Regions from separate parts of the Homo sapiens genome. Here regions 2, 3 and 4 are each linked to region 1. The links are contacts of gene promoters, found by promoter capture Hi-C in blood cells and fetal thymus (Javierre and others, 2016). All regions are on one chromosome and are shown on one strand. Each heading gives the region's core, a stretch centred on a gene start or on the middle of the fragment in contact. The rest is flanking DNA. Distances are from core to core; before and after follow the strand shown. Region 1 holds the start of IL2RA (interleukin 2 receptor subunit alpha). Region 2 has its middle 43 kb from the start of LINC02656. Region 3 has its middle 16 kb from the start of LINC02656. Region 4 overlaps GDI2 (GDP dissociation inhibitor 2).

Region 1 (4,593 bases), core at 1,019-3,518:
TATCCTGGAACTTAAATTAAAAACAAAAAAGAGTTTTTAATCCAAAAAAGATTAACAGCAACTAGAAGAAAGAAAGAGATATAAACAGTGAATTGCAATGCAGCACGGCAGGTGTTATGATGGAGTAGAAAGGACTGGAAAAGGCCTCCTGGAGGAAGGGACACTCAAGTGTCTTTCCATTTCACCTGTAAACTCATTAAGGGCAAAAGCTTTGCTACAGCTTCAGTATGAGATCCTGGGCAATCCGTGACAAAATGGGTCTGCTTTTGCACCCCCAACTTCTTCTCACATCCCTGCATCGTGCCATGCAGCATCAACTGGAAACCTCAGCATCAGCAAACGACGACAGAGCGTTCATCCGTAAGGTGAACCAGAAAAGCCAGTTCAATGACTTGTTTAACCATGGTCCATCTCAGAACCAAGAGTTGGGCCTCTTATTTACCAGAAAAATTGTGGGGGCTTTGTGATATGGCTTTAAAAAAATCTTGTAATTGCCAGGCGTGGTGGCTCACACCTGTAATCCCAGCACTTTGGGAGGCCGAGGTGGGTGAATCGCCTAAGGTCAGGAGTTCGAGACCAGCCTGACCAACATGGTGAAACTCCGTCTCTACTAAAAATACAAAAACTAGCTGGATGTGGTGACGCGTGCCTGTAATCCTAGCTACTCAGGAGGCTGACGCAGGAGAATCACTTGAACCTGGGAGGCAGAGGTTGCAGTGAGCCAAGATTGTGCCATTGCGCTCCAAAAAAAAAAAAAAAAAGACATTAACATAAATTTAAATATTTTATAATGACAATCCACATTAACTACTTAAAGCATAAGCTATTTTCCAGGAGAGGCAGCAAGTGCATTCTACTCCCATGCCCAAGAAGAAAGGAGCGTGACTTTGGTGGGAGTACTAGGAGTTTCTACTGGAGCACTTGCCCGCAGAGTGAGAAACGTTCCTAGAGAGGAAGTTATACCTGCTGTGGAATTTAAGAGAATCTTGTCATATTTTGACAAGTTTTTTGAGATGGAAGTCTCACTCTGTCGCCCAGGCTGGAGTGCAGTGGCGCAATCTCAGCTCACTGCAGCCTGCACCTCCTCGGTTCCAGCTATTCTCTTGTCTCAGCCTCCTGAGTAACTGGGATTACAGGCGCCCGCCACTACGCCTGGCTAATTTTTGTATTTTTAGTAGAAATGGGGTTTTACCATGTTGGCCAGACTGGTCTCAAACTCCCGACCTCAGGTGATCTGCCTGCCTCAGCCTCCCAAAGTGCTGGAATTACAGGCGTGTGCCACTGCGCCTGGCTAATTTTTTTTTTTTTTTTTTTTTTTTTTTTTTTTTAGTAGAGACGGTGGTTTCACCATGTCATCCAGGCTGGTCTCAAACTCCTGACCTCAGGTGATCCACCCACCTTGGTCTACCAAAGTGCTCGGATTACAGGCATGAGCCACCAGGCCCAGTCAACGTGATGTGTTTTGGAACCCTGAATTCCTTGGCTTGCCCGGAGGGTTTTCTTTTTGTTAATATCTTTGCTTGCTTTCTAGTATTTAAAAAATTGTGTTTTGCTCTAACTATGCAATGGCTTTAAGTCTTAGACAAATTTCCAGGGAGCAAAACACACTCAACCATTTCATAATAATCAGAAGAGAGCTCTGATCAATAAATAAGCAAGACTGAATTTTACAAAATAATCCAAAGTTTAAAACCAAAGCCCACTTTTTGCATGATCCTTTAAGAGAAAGAAATCTGGAAGCAAAACACCTTATAAAATGACAATGCACTTTCAGGAGCCCAGGGCACTGTGGTGAAATGATGATGGCTAGTACAGGTTATAAGCCTTGGGGAATTATTTATGAATTCTCAGGATCCTTCAGTTCGCCGCATCCTTCTCCATTATTTGAATATTGGAGGCTGCCTGACCAGAATCTTGTCAGGACTTTGCTCCTTCATCCCAGGTGGTCCCGGCTGACTCCTGAGGACGTTACAGCCCTGAGGGGAGGACTCAGCTTATGAAGTGCTGGGTGAGACCACTGCCAAGAAGTGCTTGCTCACCCTACCTTCAACGGCAGGGGAATCTCCCTCTCCTTTTATGGGCGTAGCTGAAGAAAGGATTCATAAATGAAGTTCAATCCTTCTCATCAACCCCAGCCCACACCTCCAGCAATTGAACTTGAAAAAAAAAACCTGGTTTGAAAAATTACCGCAAACTATATTGTCATCAAAAAAAAAAAAAAAAAAAAACACTTCCTATATTTGAGATGAGAGAAGAGAGTGCTAGGCAGTTTCCTGGCTGAACACGCCAGCCCAATACTTAAAGAGAGCAACTCCTGACTCCGATAGAGACTGGATGGACCCACAAGGGTGACAGCCCAGGCGGACCGATCTTCCCATCCCACATCCTCCGGCGCGATGCCAAAAAGAGGCTGACGGCAACTGGGCCTTCTGCAGAGAAAGACCTCCGCTTCACTGCCCCGGCTGGTCCCAAGGGTCAGGAAGATGGATTCATACCTGCTGATGTGGGGACTGCTCACGTTCATCATGGTGCCTGGCTGCCAGGCAGGTAAGGGCCTGTGGGTGCCCCCGGAATTCCGGGAAGGCTGATGGGCATCCCTCTTCCCAGCCACAGAACCAGAGGGAGTCCCCAGGTAGATGGTTCCAAGAAGGGAGTTGAATCTTGGGTTCCACCTCTTGCCTGTGACCCACGGGGACCCCAGTTTATGCCTCACTGTTCCTTGGTCTGTCAAGAGAGCCTGAAATAGCATTAGGTTCTCCTGTCCTTCTCAGTCCTTGACAATTAATTCTGGGAAGAATAGTGTGGCATGATATTTGGGATATTTGGATGTTAACAGGGTCCCGATGAGCAGGTTTCTCAAGAAATTATCTTTTATTCTTCAATGAATTTCCTTTTATTCTCTGCACTCCCACCCCCCAACTAAGAAGCTATCAGGAAGCTCTTTAAGTTCAGGTTAATTTGCTGGAGACATGAGTACTCATATATCAAACACTGGGAGAATTTAAGATCTCAGAAAAGTTTAGCTTCAAGGATGTATACACTGCTTTTACGTCTTAGGAAATAACACCTAGGAATTTCCTTACAAGTGCAACTTTACAGAAATTTTTAAAAATATGCATACTCACTTTTAGAACATTACTACTTCTCATAATCCTATGTATATACATGATATGTATATGTATACGTGTTTATATATGCAAATTTTAAATTTCATTCCTTGTTTCAAATGGATTTTCTCGAAGATTTTTTTTTTTTGACACTGTCTCTGTCAGCCAGACTGGAGTGCAGTGGCGCGATATTGGCTTACTGCAACCTTCGCCTCCCAGGCTTAGCGATCCTCCCACCTCAGCCTCCTGAGTAGCTGGGACTACAGGCATACGCCACCACACCTGGTTAATTTATTTTTTTGTAGAGATGGGGTTTTTGCCATGTTGCCCAAGCTGGTCTTGAACTCCTGGGCTCAAGTGATCCACTCACCCTGGCCTCCCATACTGCTGGTACTACAGGCATGAACCACCGTGCCTGGCCAATATTTTTTTTTAAAGAAATAAAAAACCACCAACTTCTACCTCAAACCACTCTTCCTAATTGAGTGTGAATTTTCTAATAATGTCTTCCCTTTGCTTACTCAGGAAGACAGATAAGAAAGTTTATAGTGTTTTTTGAAAGTCTATAATGGCAACAAGTAGAATGCTAACTGGCTGTAGAAAGAATTTATTAAGAAATGAAACATAATGATGCATTTCAGGAGTCTGCTTGCTTGTTTAGGGGAAGTGCCCAGTCATGCTGGGCTGTGTACTGGCCCAGATGTAGGAGTGTCTTTAAAGAGGGCATTTTATTTACTTATTACATTTTTATTTATTTTTTTTTTACTTTTTGAGACAGAGTCTCACTCTGTTGCCCAGGCTGGAGTGCAGTGGCGTGATCTCAGTCCACTGCAACCTCCACCTCATGGGCTCAAGTAATTCTCGTGCCTCAGACTCCTGAGTAGCTAGGTTTACAGGTGCGTGCACCACCACGACCAGCTAATTTTTGTATTTTTAGTAGAGATGGGGTTTCACCATATTGGTCAGGCTGGTCTCAAACTCCTGACCTTGTGGTCCACCAGCCATGGCCTCCCAAAGTGCTGGGATTACAGGTGTGAGCCATCGCGCCTGACCTATGTGTTTTATTTTAATAGGTTTTGGAGGACAGGTGGTGTTTGGTTACATGAATAAGTTCTTTAGTGGTGATTTGTAAGATTTTGGTGCACCCATCACCTGAGCATGTATGCTGTACCCAATGCGTTGTAAGATTTTGGTGCACCCATCACCTGAGCATGTATGCTGTACCCAGTGCGTAGTCTCTTTTCCCTCACCCACCTCGCACCCTTTCCCCTGAGTCCTCAGAGTCCATCGTGCCGTTCTTATAAAGAGGGCATACTTTTAGGAAGGTTTTTCAATGTGATTTCTACATCCACAGGGTCTTTGCTAACTCAGTCTAAGCCAAGAACAGGAAAATCTTGACAATTAATCATGCTCTGCCTCTGGAAGACACATTTCAAGTAAACTCGTGTTATTTCTAGCTATTGGTGACTTATCCAAGGGTCTGAGT
Region 2 (4,593 bases), core at 980-3,479, 330 kb before region 1:
CTTTGGGAGACCGAGGTGAGCGGATCACGAGGTCAGGAGATCGAGACCATCCTGGCTAACACGGTGAAAACCCCGTCTCTACTAAAAGTACAAAAAATTAGCCGGGCACGGTGGCAGGCACCTGTAGTCCCAGCTACTCGGGAGGCTGAAGCGGGAGAATGGCGTGAACCCGGGAGGCGGAGCTTGCAGTGAGCCGAGATCACAGCCACTGCACTCCAGCCTGGGAGACAGAGCGAGACTCCGTCTCAAAAAAAAAAAAAAAAAAAAAAAAGACTCCAGCTTCCTGCACAGCTGGCTCTGTGTAAATTATTTGTTCTCTATTGCAATTCCCCCGTCTTGATAAATCGGCTCCCTCTAGGCGGCGGGCAAGGTGAACCCACTGGATGGTTACAGTAACAGCAAAGGTCGCACCGTTCCGGCACAAGGAAGACCTTCAGGGAAGAGTCATGAAGAGAAGGAGTGAATGATGTATGTGTGGAAGAACAGTATCAAGCTATTCCTCTCAACCATTCTTATTTGACACAATCACTATTTGTTTTTGAGAAAATAGATTATAAAATGGCCCTGCTTCTTGCGAGCAGCATGGATTTTCTTTCTCCTCCTGGGTTTTCAACTGTAACTTGCCCTTTTCTCAGTCAGTTGCTGGGCTGAATTCATCAGTTCAACAGCTGACCCACCGTGGACTGCACGTCTGACGATTTGGCGTATGTATTTACAACACGTATCTGAGAAAGCCGGTGCCCCTGGCACGTAACACTACCCATTCCGAAATGCCGCTGAAGGTCAGAAAAAGGAATGGTGCTGCTCAGTGAAGCTGACAGTCAGAAAGCTGTTTTTTGTTTGTGTTTATGTTTTGCTTTTTGGTCTCTCTTGCATTTTTAGATGTTTGTGTTCTAATTCTTCCCCCTTCTACTCCAGGAGACAAGTGGCAAATGGGAAAAATGACTGACCTAGTTCAAGAACCTGACCATCGGTGGAGTGCTGTGTGCCCTGTGAATGCACAAGCAGACTGCAGAGGCGCCAGGTGTCCTGTCTCTGGAGATCAGGCCACTACACTTACGACAACAAAGGCAGATGGGGGAGGACCCAGAGTGTGTCAAAGTCGTAATCACAAGGCCAGTGCTACACCCTGCTTATCACCAAAGATAAGGAATGAACGACATGACACCTTCACATATAAACTAATCAGAATTTAACATCATACATAAATGGCAGTAGCAGCTTCCTTTTCACATGTATTCTAAGAAATCATTTCCTCCTGCCTCTTCATGTATTAATTTAACATGCATTGATTATCTACCCCATGACAGTGTGCTAAGAAAGTTACAAGCATAAGTAAAGCTCAGACCCTACCATAGACCTAAGATTTTACAATCCAAGAGCAGGGCAGACCTGAACACAAGTATGCATGGTAAGATGCAATGTGTGATACAATTAAAAACACACTGTGATCGGCCTGGCGCAGTGGCTCACACCAGTAATCCCAGCACTTTGGGAGGCCAAGGAGGGTGGATCACGAGGTCAGGAGTTCAAGACCAGCGTGGCCAAGATGGTGAAATCCCATCTCTACTGAAAAAAATACAAAAAAATTAACCAGGTGTTGTCGGGGACGTCTGTAATCCCAGCTACACAGGAGGCTGATGCAGGAGAATCGCTTGAACCCAGGAGGCGGAGGTTGCAGTGAGCCGAGATGGAGCCACTGCACTCCAGCCTGGGTGACAGAGCGAGACTCAGTCTCAAAAAAAAAAAAAAAAAAAAAACACTGTGATCAAACTGTGGGACAATAAGGCACTCCCCCACAAAAGAACTTTCAGACCCCAGATTCTGTGAAATGTCTCTGAGACAGTTGACTAAAAACACACAGTTCCTCCTGCATTTTCAGATTAATGGATTGATATTCTGTGAAGGACCTCCTGTGTCAGGAGTCTGCAAACTACAGCCCATGTACACCAGTCCAGCCTACTGCCTGTTTTCATAAATAAAGTTTTATTGGAACACAGCCACGGTCATGCACTTAGGTATTGTCTGTGGCTGCTTTTACCATAGTGGCAGAGCTGGGTCGTTTAAAAGAGATCACATGTGAAAATATCTACTCTCAGGCCCTTCACAAAAGTGAAGGTGAAAAATATTCACTCTCAGGCCCTTCACAAAAAAAGCCAAACACTTTACTGAGAAAAACATATCCAATATATTTAACAGCAAAGGGTTCACATAAAGAAAACTATAAAATCAAATCAAAGCACCAAAAACAGGTTTGAAGTAAATGGAAGCATATTCTATGATGAAAAGACAATAACAATAACATATATATAGATACACATATACATATAAAAAAACTCTCCCAACAATTAACATACAAATTTAATGTCTTTCCAACTAGTGATACAGGAGTTAAGAAGAAATCACTAAGGCAGATAGTAAGGGTATGGGAGTCCTCGATAAGGTTCTCCTCTTTAAGGAAAAGCATCCCCAAATCCTTTTCTAACAAACAGCAGCCTTAAAGTCGAGCTGCAAACATAGACAAGCAAGCTGGGAGCTCGCTCAGGTGAGTGCTGGGCAGGAACTAGGGACTAGACATGTTCAAGATGGCGGCTCAATCTTTCCTTCTCTTTGTCAGCCACCGGTACAGTGAAGAGCAGGCAAGATGGCCCTGATCAACTGGAAAGCCCATTTGCATAACAAGACTGGTGGGGCAACCAGCCTTCCTTGTAGGCTATGTAAAAGTTGTAAGTAATCTAACCAATCTGTGAGGCCTACATAAATCAGACACCACCTCCTCAAACCGGGCTATAAAATCCGTTGCCACCCAGTCTTTTCCACTTGGAGACTCCTTTCTCTAAGTCGTTTCTCTTTCTCTTTTCTTCTGCCTATTAAACCTCAGCTCCTAAACTCCTTTTGTGTGTCTGTGTCCTAAATTTTCCTGGCGCGATGACGAACCCCAGGGTATATACCTCAGACAATGTAGCCGTTTCACTAATATCTCAATAAGGTTTAGGGGGTTTTTGTTGTTGATTTGTTTTCGTTTTGATTGCTTGCTTTATGCTTAAAATTAAATCATATTATCTTAACATTTATATTATGTGAAATAAATGCCCAAGTATAATCCAAAATTTTCTGGAAAAAAGAGAAAAGGGGAACTTGCTTTAGAAGTTATGAAAAACACTTTTAAGGCACTGTAATAAAATTAACATAATGTTAACGAGGTAATTAACATAATATTGACAAGGTACAGAATCCAAAGGCGATATTTTAATTTCGTGGGGGGAAAGGATGGATTATTGAATGCTATTAGAAAACCTTTAGGTAAAGATGGTGGATTTAACATGTGCATCTATTTTCACTTCTTCCTCAAAAACAAAATGCACTAAAACAATAGCAAAATAACTTTTTTTTTAGCATAAGCCCTCAAAGATAGGGGAGCTGGAAGGATCTACAACTGTAACAACATTTTAAGGAGAGAAACCAGATAAGGAGTAGAAAAAAGACCAAGCCGGAAGTAGAGAGAAATCCTAGGACCAAACTGAGGCAGGCTTTCCCAGAAGCTCAGAAATTCTGTACATCTAGATAAACGTGGGAATAAAAGAAGGGCTAAAATAAAGACAGTTTGTTGAAAGTTTGTTTAAGAAACAGGGCCACATGTCCTCTTCCCCGTTTCAGCAACTAAGCTCCTAGTTCTTCCTACTTTTGCAAAAGACAGTAGGTTTATAGTCAGAGGAGGGTACAACAGAGAGGGTCTCTGGTATGAGGGACACTAAAAGGATGAAGGAAAGGGATTAAATGTATATATGCTGAGATGCCCTCCCCAGCATGCAGAGTCAGGCTTTCAACCCAGGTGAGCTCTCAGTTGAGTTTTCTGTGGGACATGATCAGGCTGAGAGGACAAGAGAGCAGCCCAGCCAAGGAAGTTCTCAAGCTCAATGGTGTAGCCAATTAGTCCTTCTCTAAAGTACACAGTTAACACACTCCACTCACATGCACACAGGTCTATCTGCCTCATAGTCCTGTAACCACCCACTGGGGGTCACCTTGCCCACTGCCTAGATGGAGCTAATTTACCAAGACAGGGGAATTGCAATGGAGAAAGAGTAGTTCACACAGAGCCAGCTGTGCAGGAGACTGGAGTTTTATTATTACTCAAACTAGCCTGCCTGAGCATTCAGGGGTCAGAGTTTTTAAGGATAATTTGGTGGGTGAGGGAAGGCTAGTGAGTCAAGAGTGCTGATTGGTTAGGTCAGAGATGAAATCATAGGGAGTTGAAGCTGTCCTCTTGCGCTGGGTCAGTTCCTGGGTAGGGGCCACAGGATCAGATGAGCCAGTTTATCGATCTGGGTGGTGCCAGCTGATCCATCAAGTGCAGGGTCTGCAAAATATCTCAAGCCCTGATCTTAGGAGCAGTTTAGGGGGGGTCAGAATCTTGTAATCTCCAGCTGCATGACTCCTAAACTGTAATTTCTAATCCTGTGGCTAATTTCTTAGTTCTACAAAGGCAGTCTAGATCCTAGACAAGAAGGAGGTTTGTTTTGGGAAAAGGCTGTTATTATCTTTGTTTTAAACTATAAACTAAGTTCCTCCCAAAGTTAGTTCAGCCCATGC
Region 3 (4,593 bases), core at 539-3,038, 300 kb before region 1:
GGCAAAATTAGGAATGCTTCTGTTCTCAAGATATCAGGATACAAGAACACTCCTAAGCCTAGGTCTGTTTAGTAAATGTTATCCATCTGTTCCCTTAACCATAAACATCTAGAGGCCAGGAATACCTAACTTTCTGGGAGCGCAACCCAGCAAGTCTCAGCCCCATTTTCCTAGCTCTCACTCAAGATGAAGTCGCTCTGGTTCGAACGCCTCTGACAGAAACCCAGGCTAATTCCTCTCTCACATGGGCCATGTGGTTGCTCCTTCTAGGACTTTTGCTTGCCGAATGTGCCCTGTTCCCTTTACTCTCTCCTTTACAGTTCAGGCTCCCTCCCAGTCTCAACTGCATGCTTCACCATAGCCATGCAAATGCCCTCCATATTACGACATTAGCAATTTCAGCTTCCGTTTCTTGGTTCACATTTCTAAGGGGGGAAATCTGATTGGCCAAGGTCATGTGTCAAAGGTTGTGAACAAATCAAAAGATCGACTGTACATGGGTCAGATGACCATGCTGGTTCAATGGACTGTCACAGGGAATTGGGGTCACGAGTTTCCCAAGATAGCTACCTGCAGATAAGCCAGTTTTCCTTAGAAGGAGGTGTTAGTAAGACAGGCAATAATTCTCATCCTTCCACGGCCATTAACTGGTTGGGGTATTTGAAACAAATCACTTAATCCCCCAGCTTGACCTTTTTCAACTGTAAAGGGAAGCGTTCAACATCTCCAAAGCTTCTTTCTTCTAGTACTAATGTCTGGTCATATATACTACACAATACAGAATACAATGGCAAAATATAAAGAAACCAGCTATACCTACTGGGGATACAGGGATTGCTATGTACCCAAGACTTGAAAACAGCAAAGGTCTAGAGCAATGAGTATTTTCAGGAGCACCTGAAAAAAATCTGGGTTTCAATGGCAGGACTGTCTCAGGGTCTTTGAATTGCTTGGACTATATACCTCTTGGACAAGATGGCTTTTATTCAACAGGGTTGGTGATTACCATAGCTATGAAAATGATGATGACAATTTAGGAGCCACAGCTGCTCAATCCTGCACCCTTCTCTTCTCCCTTATTGCCCACCTTCTCTTACAGGACCCCTATACCATCCCTGCCTATAGTAAGAGCTCAGTGGCCAGTGTGCCACTTCTAACAAGTTACTTCTTTTCATCTTTGAGTGTCCTAACACCTCATTCTCCCATTTGTAATCACTGATTGAGAGAGTTTAGATGTTGTCCCCCACCAAATCTCATGTCAAAATGTAATCCCCAGTGGTGAAGGTGGGGCCTGGTGGGAGGTGATTGGATCATGGGGGTAGATTTCTCACGAATGGTCTAGCACCATCCTCTTGGTGCTGTTCTCATGACAGTGAGTTCTCGAAAGATGTGGTTGTTAAAAGTGTGTGGCGCCTTCCCCCTCTCTCTTCCACGTGCTTTCTCCATGTGGTGTGCCTGCTTCCCTTTGCCTTCTGCCATGATTGTAGCTTCCTGAGGCCTCCCCAGAAGCCAAGTAGATGCTGGCGCTGGTGCAGGCTGTACAGGAAGCATAGCTTGCAGAACCGTAAGCCAATTAAATTCCTTTTTTTATAAATTACCCGGTCCCAGGTATTTCTTTATAGCAATGTGAGAATGCACTAACACACTGATCAAAACTAAAATCTGAAACATCATTTATGTTTTAGGGTGAATGTAAATCAGTGTGTAACCCCTCCTAAGGCATTTGCATTTAGCCCATGTATGAAAAGGGAGGTGTTCATTTTAGACAAGTTGTAGGGGGGTATCAAAGAATTATTTCTCTCTCTTATTTAACTTCCATTTTTCTATGAGATGGGTCTTTTTCGGTGCATCGCTGCAGAGACTGATAAGTAACCCCTCACTCTGTGATATACATATAAGAAGCACATAATGCATTGGCAGAGATAGCACTCAAGAAAGAAGGAATTAAATCAGCCTTGTGCACTCCACATTGCACCTTATGCAGAGGGAGAAGGGCACCAGAAATGCCATGGGAAATTAGGCCTCATTGACATGATAAAAGAAAAACCTCAGCAGAATTAAATTTAAAGGAGTTCAATTGAGGAATGAATGATTCGCGAATTGGGCAGCCCCCAGAATCACAGCAGATTCACAGAGACTCCAGGGGTGCCTCATGGTCAAAACAAATTTATAGACAAAAGAAGTAAAGCGATGTACAGGAATCAGAAGCGAGGTACAGAAACAGTGAGATTGGTTATAGCTCGGCGTTTGCCTTATTTGAACACAGTTTGAACATTCAGCAGTCTATGAGTGGTTGAAGCATGGCCACTAGGATTGGCCAACACTCAGCCATTGTTACAGGTGCATACTATTAAGCTAGGTTTTCCATTTTTTCTGACTGTTAAGCTAGGTTGCAGTTCATCCATGAGGACTCAAATATAGAAGTATGGAGTCCTTCTCCGGCCATATTTAGTTTGCTTTAACAGGCATATAGATTGTTTTGAGCTAAAACAACCACATTGATTGCAGGACAAGGCCTTTACCTCTTCCCTTACTCCCTAAAACTGGAGTATATAAATTTCCCCTCCTGTAAAGGAAATTTACTTTTATAATGGAAATCTCCACTTGTAAAGACGTCCCCATACCACGAAGAGAGCTACTCTCCAAGACAACAACTCTCATCACCTGACTTACCTGCATAACAAGGCAAACTTATTTACCCTACGTCTCCTCCCCTCCCCTTCTCATAACTTGCCTCCCCACTCAGAAGCCCAAGACCCCTTTTTACTGTGTTTAGTCTAAGATGATACATAAGCCTCAATCAACTGGCCGCCTCCTTGAGCCATGTGTTTCCTTGTAAGCTTTTGTACATGCCTACATAATTTAAATTGTTTTTTTTTCCTCTTGTTAATCTGCCTTTTATCAGTTTGATTCTTGGGCCCAAGTCATTGAACCTAGGAGGGTGGAATGGGAAATATTTGTTCTCCCCTGCCAGGGCTGCAATGTCTTCATGTTAGGAATGTGTCAACAGAAGAGAGATAATAGAGATAGAATCAGAAAAATAAACATCCAAAGCTGTTCAGGATAGAACAGCATGGGATCTCGGGGAGAAATTTTTACCAATCACTGAAGGAAGGCATTGGCTGGGCTCCCACTGTGGCCTAAAAAAGCACCCCTGGAGAACACCGCTTTGGCTTTGTTCTGGTTCCACGGTCAGCCAAATAATGACCAGCTGACCAATGAGTGTGAAATAAATGACTACTGTTAAAAGCCTCTGAGATTTCAGTTATTTGTTGTATAACATAATTATAGCCAAAACCTAACCCAACTTTTAAAATTAGACTTTCCTCCAAAACTTCACAGCATCTTAAGGATGTCAAGCACACACACAAGATGCAATGCAGTCATCCCTCATCAGGAAAACACTGACTGCAAGCTATTTGTGGATCATGCACACACTGAGGGCATCGGAAGCATCTCAGCAGAAACTGTCAAGTGGCCTCCACTTCACAGACTCACAGATTAATGACAGCTCTCCATGGCCTCTGTAAAACAGACTCAGTCGTGCCTGGAGCATACTGGCAGTTCACTGCCAGGAAGCTTATCTTCAGAGGCACACACTGGGCTGCTGTCTCTACTAGAGTCAATGACAGTGGTTCTCAAACCTATGCAGGCTCTTTTAGCAAAACATTCCACGATGAATGAAATATGAACACAAAAGAGAGTTGTTTCCAAAAAAACTAAGTTGAGTGCTTTGAAACGACCCAGTTAGGCAAAGTGTTATACATATATATATATGTGTGTATATATATATATGTGTGTGTGTATGTGTGTGTATATATATATATACACACACACACATATATGTATATATTCAGAAAACAATTGGCAGCTTCTTTTTTTTTTTGAATGATGGTAAAATACATATAACATAAAATTTACCATCTGTTATGGACTGAATGTTTGTGTCTTTCCAAAATCCCTATGTAGAAGCCTAACCCCAGAGTGGCTGTATTTGAAGCTGCAACCTCTAAGGAAGTAATTAAGGTTCAATGAGGCCCTAAGGGTGGGGCCCTGATCCAATAGGATTAGTGTCCTTATGAGAAGTGACATCTGAGAGTGCTCCCCGACTCCACCCTGCCATGTGAGAACAGAGAAAATGCACTACCTTCAAGCCAAAAAGAGAGGCCTCACCTGAAATTGACTTGACCAGCACCTCGATGTGTCACTTCTAGCCTCCAGAACTGTGAGAAAATAAATGTCTGTTGTTTAGGCCACCCAGTCTGTGCTATTTTGTTATGGCAGTCAGAGCTGACTAAGACACCATTTTAACCATGTTTAAGTATGCAGTTCAGGGTATTAAGTACGTTACCATTGGTGTGCAAAATTGACTTTTTAATGCTGTTTAACTAGAGGTAAATAAGACCATTGTAAAAGATGGGGGATGAAATCATAAAAGCCTAAACCTCTGCATTTGGATTGCTTTTCAAGCACCTTTAAATTCTCACTCCTTTATAAGGAACCCAAACTGGAAAAGGAAATAAATATTCTGACAGTACTCTATGAAGAAAGTCTGAAGAACTTCTATTAGAGAAACCACACTCAAAAAGTCTT
Region 4 (4,593 bases), core at 750-3,249, 270 kb after region 1:
ACAAGATTGTAAGCCTTTGGCACAGACTTACCTGTTGATGCTTATGACAGTCTTAAATAACTGGGCCTTTTGAAACAGCATTATTTTAATGTTTTTCTAGTTTGTAGGGTTTTAAAATTTTCACATTTTTTTAATTTTAGAGGATCTAAGTTTTCTTTTTCTTTTTTTTTTTTTGAGACGGAGTCTCGCTCTGTCACCCAGGCTGGAGTGCAGTGGCATGATCTTGGCTCACTACAACCTCCGCCTTCTGGTTCAAGCAATTCTCCTGCCTCAGCCTCCCAAGTAGCTGGGATTACAGGTGCGTGCCACCACGCCCAGCTAATTTTTGTATTTTTAGTACAGACAGGGTTTTACCATGTTGGCCAGGCTGGTCTTGAACTCCTGACATCAAGTGACCTGCTCGCCTCAGCCTCCCAAGTACTGTGATTACAGGCTAAGTATTTTTTTAAATTGCTGTAATATTAGTACTTTTTTCTGAGATGACATTGAAAAACTAAATTTTTGGTTATAGGTCTGTTTGTGCACATGAAATAAAGCATCTGCTATCCTTTTTCCTTGTTTGAGTTTATATTCTATTGTTTGTTTTTATTAATTTTTTTTAGAGACAGGGGTTTCACTCTGTCACCCAGGCTGGAGTGTAGTAATGCAATCATAGCTTACTGAAGCCTTGACTTCTAGGTTCAAGTGATCCTCTCACTTCAGTGTCCCACCACACCTGGGTGTTCCACCACACCTGGCTAATTTTTTTGTGTTATGGTAGAGATGAGGTCTCACTGTGTTGTGTGGGTTGGTCTTGGACTCTTGGGCTCAAACAATCCTCCCTCCTTGGCCTCCCAAAGTGCTGGGATTACAGGTGTGAGCCACCTGTGCCTGGCCAATAATACTATAATTCCAAACCTCATATCTCTAATAAATTTTTCATTGCTTTTGCAAAAGCAAGTTGATAGAATTATTAACCTTTAAGTTGTAACATTAAAAAAACCTATGTATTCAACCTTGAATAGGAAAAAAAGATAAAAAATAACAAAAACGTGTAATATGCAGTGCAATAAGTTTGCATTCTGGTTGTCCTATTTAAAATACAGCTTTGGAGGTTATTTTGGGCCAGGCGCGGTGCCTCGTGCCTATAATCCCAGCACTTGGGAGGCCAAGGTGGGTGGATTGTTTGAGCTTAGGAGTTTGAGACCAGCCTGGGCAACATGGCAAAACCCTGTCTCTACAAAACAATACAAAAAAAAATTAGCCAGGCATAGTAGTGCCAGGTACTCAGGAGCGTCAGGCTGGAAGCTTGCATGAGCCCAGGAGGCTGAGGTTGCAGTGAGCTCGTGATTGTGCCACTGCACTGTAGCCTGGGCAACAGAGGGAGACTGTGTCTCAAAAAAAAATTATTTTGTTGGAGTTATTGAACATCGTTAGAAAAAATTTTAGAAGCTGTTAGTATTAGTAAATGTTCTTTATAATTTATAGACTTAAGTTATAGTTTGAATTATGTGACTTTTCTAGGTCAGCTGGTTAAGATGCTGCTTTATACAGAGGTAACTCGCTATCTGGATTTTAAAGTGACTGAAGGGAGCTTTGTCTATAAGGGTGGAAAAATCTACAAGGTTCCTTCCACTGAAGCAGAAGCCCTGGCATCTAGTAAGTAGTTTTATTTTCTCTAGTAACTAGTTTTATTTTCTCAGAATAATGAGATTTTATACTGGAAAAGAGTCTTAGAGAGGACCCAGTCAACAAATATTTATTGAATGTCTATCATGTGCCAGACACTGTTCTAGGCAGTTGGGAACACATCAGTGAACAAAATGTTCAAAAATTCCTACCCGTTTGAAGCTTAGAGTTTAAATGATCATCTATAGATCATGTACCTTGTGGCTGGTGGATCTGAGCTTATCTAGGGTTAATAGTGTTCTTTTCACAGTAATTCATAATAGCTATGCTTTCTGTTGAGTATTTCCTGTGTCTAAAGGCTCTGTACTGAACACTCCATATTGTTTTCTTATTTGACTTCTGAAACATCTCTATGACATAGGGTCTCCATTTTATAGGTGATGAAACTCAGGCCTAAAATTGCATACGTAATAAGTAGCTGGGATAAGTAGCTGGGTTGGAAGTGAAATGCTGGTAGTGTGGCTCCAGAGCCCTGGTGCTTAATCATGTTACTAAGCTTACCCTACGCTATATTACCCAACGTGCCAACAGGAGAAGTACTCATTCTGATGATGCTCATCTTCTAATTGGTCTTGTTAGTAATTCCCAATATCTTTGATTTTAGGAACTCCTGGTGAGTTTTATATATATATATATATATATATATATATATATATATATATATATTTTTTTTTTTTTTTTTCTTTTAAAGACAGAGTCTCGCTCTGTCACCCAGGCTGGAGTGTGATGGCGCGATCTCAGAGGCTCACTGCAACCTCTACCTCCCAGGTTCAAGCGATTCTCCTGCCTCAGCCTCCTGAGTAGCTGGGACTATAGGCATGTACCAACACGCCCGGCTAATTTTTGTATTTTTAGTAGAGATGGTGTTTCACCATGTTGGCCAGGCTGGTCTTGAACTCCTGACCTCAGGTGTTTCACCTGCCTTGGCCTCCCAAAGTGCTGAGATTACAGGCATGAGCCACCGCGCCCAGCCTTGGAGTGATCTTATTCTCTGCCCAACATTATTTCCTCTGTTGCCTCACCAAAGAGTTCTGGTTAACATTTCCTATTTCAGCGTCTCTCTTAAATAGCAAACAGTCCAGAAAAGACCTTTTTGTTCTTCAAGATGTTTTAGTCCTTGTATGGAGCAGTTTGGAGAAGGATAAATTTGTATAACTAAGGGTAGGTGAGGGCTCTAGGAGCTTAGAAGAGGGAAAGTGCTCATAAGTTCTCTCATAATTATTTTGGCATCAGCGCTGAAAAGTTTTCTCATCTGTAAACCTAATTTGAATTATTTTGGCAGTTTCCTCTATTAACTTCTGATTAGGGGAGAAAATATTGGGTATAAAATATTAAAGACATAGCCAGAAAGTAAAAAATACTGCAAAGAATCAGGGCTAGGTTAGGACTGATAATTGGGGAAGGGAAGGAACAGTTTCTCATTCAGTTGCGGGTAGTTAGTAGTGTAATCATGGGTTCGAAATTATTTTAAATCTTTTAAATGACTATGAAAATTTAATCCAAATAAAGTATCTTCATAGAAGTAGGAGTTTGAGTTTGAATAGAATCCTTTTTAACAGTGGTGTGGTGTGGTGGCTCACGCTTGTGATCCCATTGCTTTGGGAAGCCGTGGTAGGAGGATTGATTTAGGCCAGGAGTTGAAGACCAGCCTGGGCAACATAGCAGGACCCTGTCTCTTCAAAAAATAAGAAAATTAGCCAGATGTGGTGGTACATTACTGTAGTCCCAGGTATTGTGGAGGCTGAGGCAGGAGGATCGCTTGAGTCCAGGAAATCAAAGCTGCAGTGAGCTGTGATTGCATCACTGCGCTCCAACCTGGGTGACAGAGGGGGACCCTGTCTCAAAATTTTTTTTAGATAAAAATAAGAAATAGAATTTTTTTTTTTTTTTTTTTTGGACAAAGGTCGTGGGTTCTTTCTTTTACATTTTCTTTCTTGGAGCTCTTACTTATATTAAAGCTTCAGTTACCTCCTTCATCTAATAGAAATTATCGTTTGGCAGTTTTATTTTCTCTGATTTTTTCAGATATATAAAACATTTACAGAGCTTGAAAGTTAAAAGGTATATTTCGAGTCTTGGTCTCATTCTTACTTTTCTACTTCCATTCTTTCTGACCTGTTAGGTAATCATTTTCTGGCTTATCCTTCTTCTGTTTTTTTTTTTTTTGAATAAGCGCATATGCTTCTGTATATATTTTTAAGGCTAGGTTTATTGAGGTATAATTTATGTACAGTAGAAATCACTTGTTTTAGTAAACACTTTTATGCATTTTGACCAAATCACTACCTTATCAGCATCTCCTTATATTAATGGAAAGGATTTTGAAATCTTGAGTTGCAGGCAAGAAAATTCTAGGCAGAATGAAGGAATGGGGTAAGGAAAGGTGGAGAGGTGGCAAAGTTCAAGAGATGGGTGGATAAGTACCAGTTGTTTTATAATTTTAATAAGAACTCAGTTTTTTGAGCACTTACATGCTAGGCATATATGTATTAAGTACTTCATGTGTATTATCTAACTTTACATAGTTCTTCACTGCAATCGTGTGAGATGCAGGTGCTATTACTATTTTTTATTTTACAGATGGGAAAGCTGAGGTATAAAAGGAAAGCACAAAGTAGTATAGCTAGTAACTGGTTTGGAGCCAGGTCTGTCTGACTTTAGAATCCCACACTCTTAACCACAAGAAATACTATATTCTTACGGTATATAAAGCTATTAATATATTGCTTTTTAGATATTTTAACAATGATTACATACCTTCTAATTCTTTTTTTTCCAAAGTAAATACTTGAGTCTCCTTAGTTGTTTCTCATATAATATGCTATCTAGATCTCTTGGCCACTCCTTGGAAATTCTCTAATTAGTCAAGATCCTATATATAATATGGCAGCCAGACCAGAGACAGTATCCCAGATGTTTTCTGCT

What was found. The method cuts DNA at HindIII sites, captures the fragments that hold promoters and counts their contacts. A CHiCAGO score of 5 or more calls a contact.
Region 2: a fragment that was not itself captured here is called in contact with the fragment with the promoter of IL2RA in region 1 in 6 of 17 cell types (activated CD4 T cells, total B cells, non-activated CD4 T cells and 3 more); the score reaches 8.8 in activated CD4 T cells.
Region 3: a contact is called between a fragment that was not itself captured here and the fragment with the promoter of IL2RA in region 1, in 5 of 17 cell types (total B cells, endothelial precursors, activated CD4 T cells and 2 more). The highest score is 6.2, in total B cells.
Region 4: a fragment that was not itself captured here is called in contact with the fragment with the promoter of IL2RA in region 1 in 1 of 17 cell types (total B cells); the score reaches 5.0 in total B cells.

The regions. Positions count from the first base shown.
Region 1 is chr10:6,060,042-6,064,634 of GRCh38, reverse strand. IL2RA (interleukin 2 receptor subunit alpha) reads left to right here and starts at 2,268. Exons shown (of 8, transcript NM_000417.3): 1 at 2,268-2,547. The coding sequence starts at 2,484. RefSeq lists a cis regulatory region at 1,885-2,515 and an enhancer at 2,508-2,557. The HindIII fragment of the contact is 7,385 bases long and covers 212-4,593 here.
Region 2 is chr10:6,390,735-6,395,327 of GRCh38, reverse strand. It overlaps a transcript of PRKCQ not described here. Among named protein-coding and RNA genes, the nearest start is that of LINC02656, 43 kb to the right of the region's middle. The HindIII fragment of the contact is 7,289 bases long and covers 1-4,593 here.
Region 3 is chr10:6,363,992-6,368,584 of GRCh38, reverse strand. No RefSeq gene overlaps it. Among named protein-coding and RNA genes, the nearest start is that of LINC02656, 16 kb to the right of the region's middle. The HindIII fragment of the contact is 2,108 bases long and covers 735-2,842 here.
Region 4 is chr10:5,791,930-5,796,522 of GRCh38, reverse strand. It overlaps GDI2 (GDP dissociation inhibitor 2), which reads left to right. Exons shown (of 11, transcript NM_001494.4): 4 at 1,504-1,638. Among named protein-coding and RNA genes, the nearest start is that of GDI2, 19 kb to the left of the region's middle. The HindIII fragment of the contact is 334 bases long and covers 1,833-2,166 here.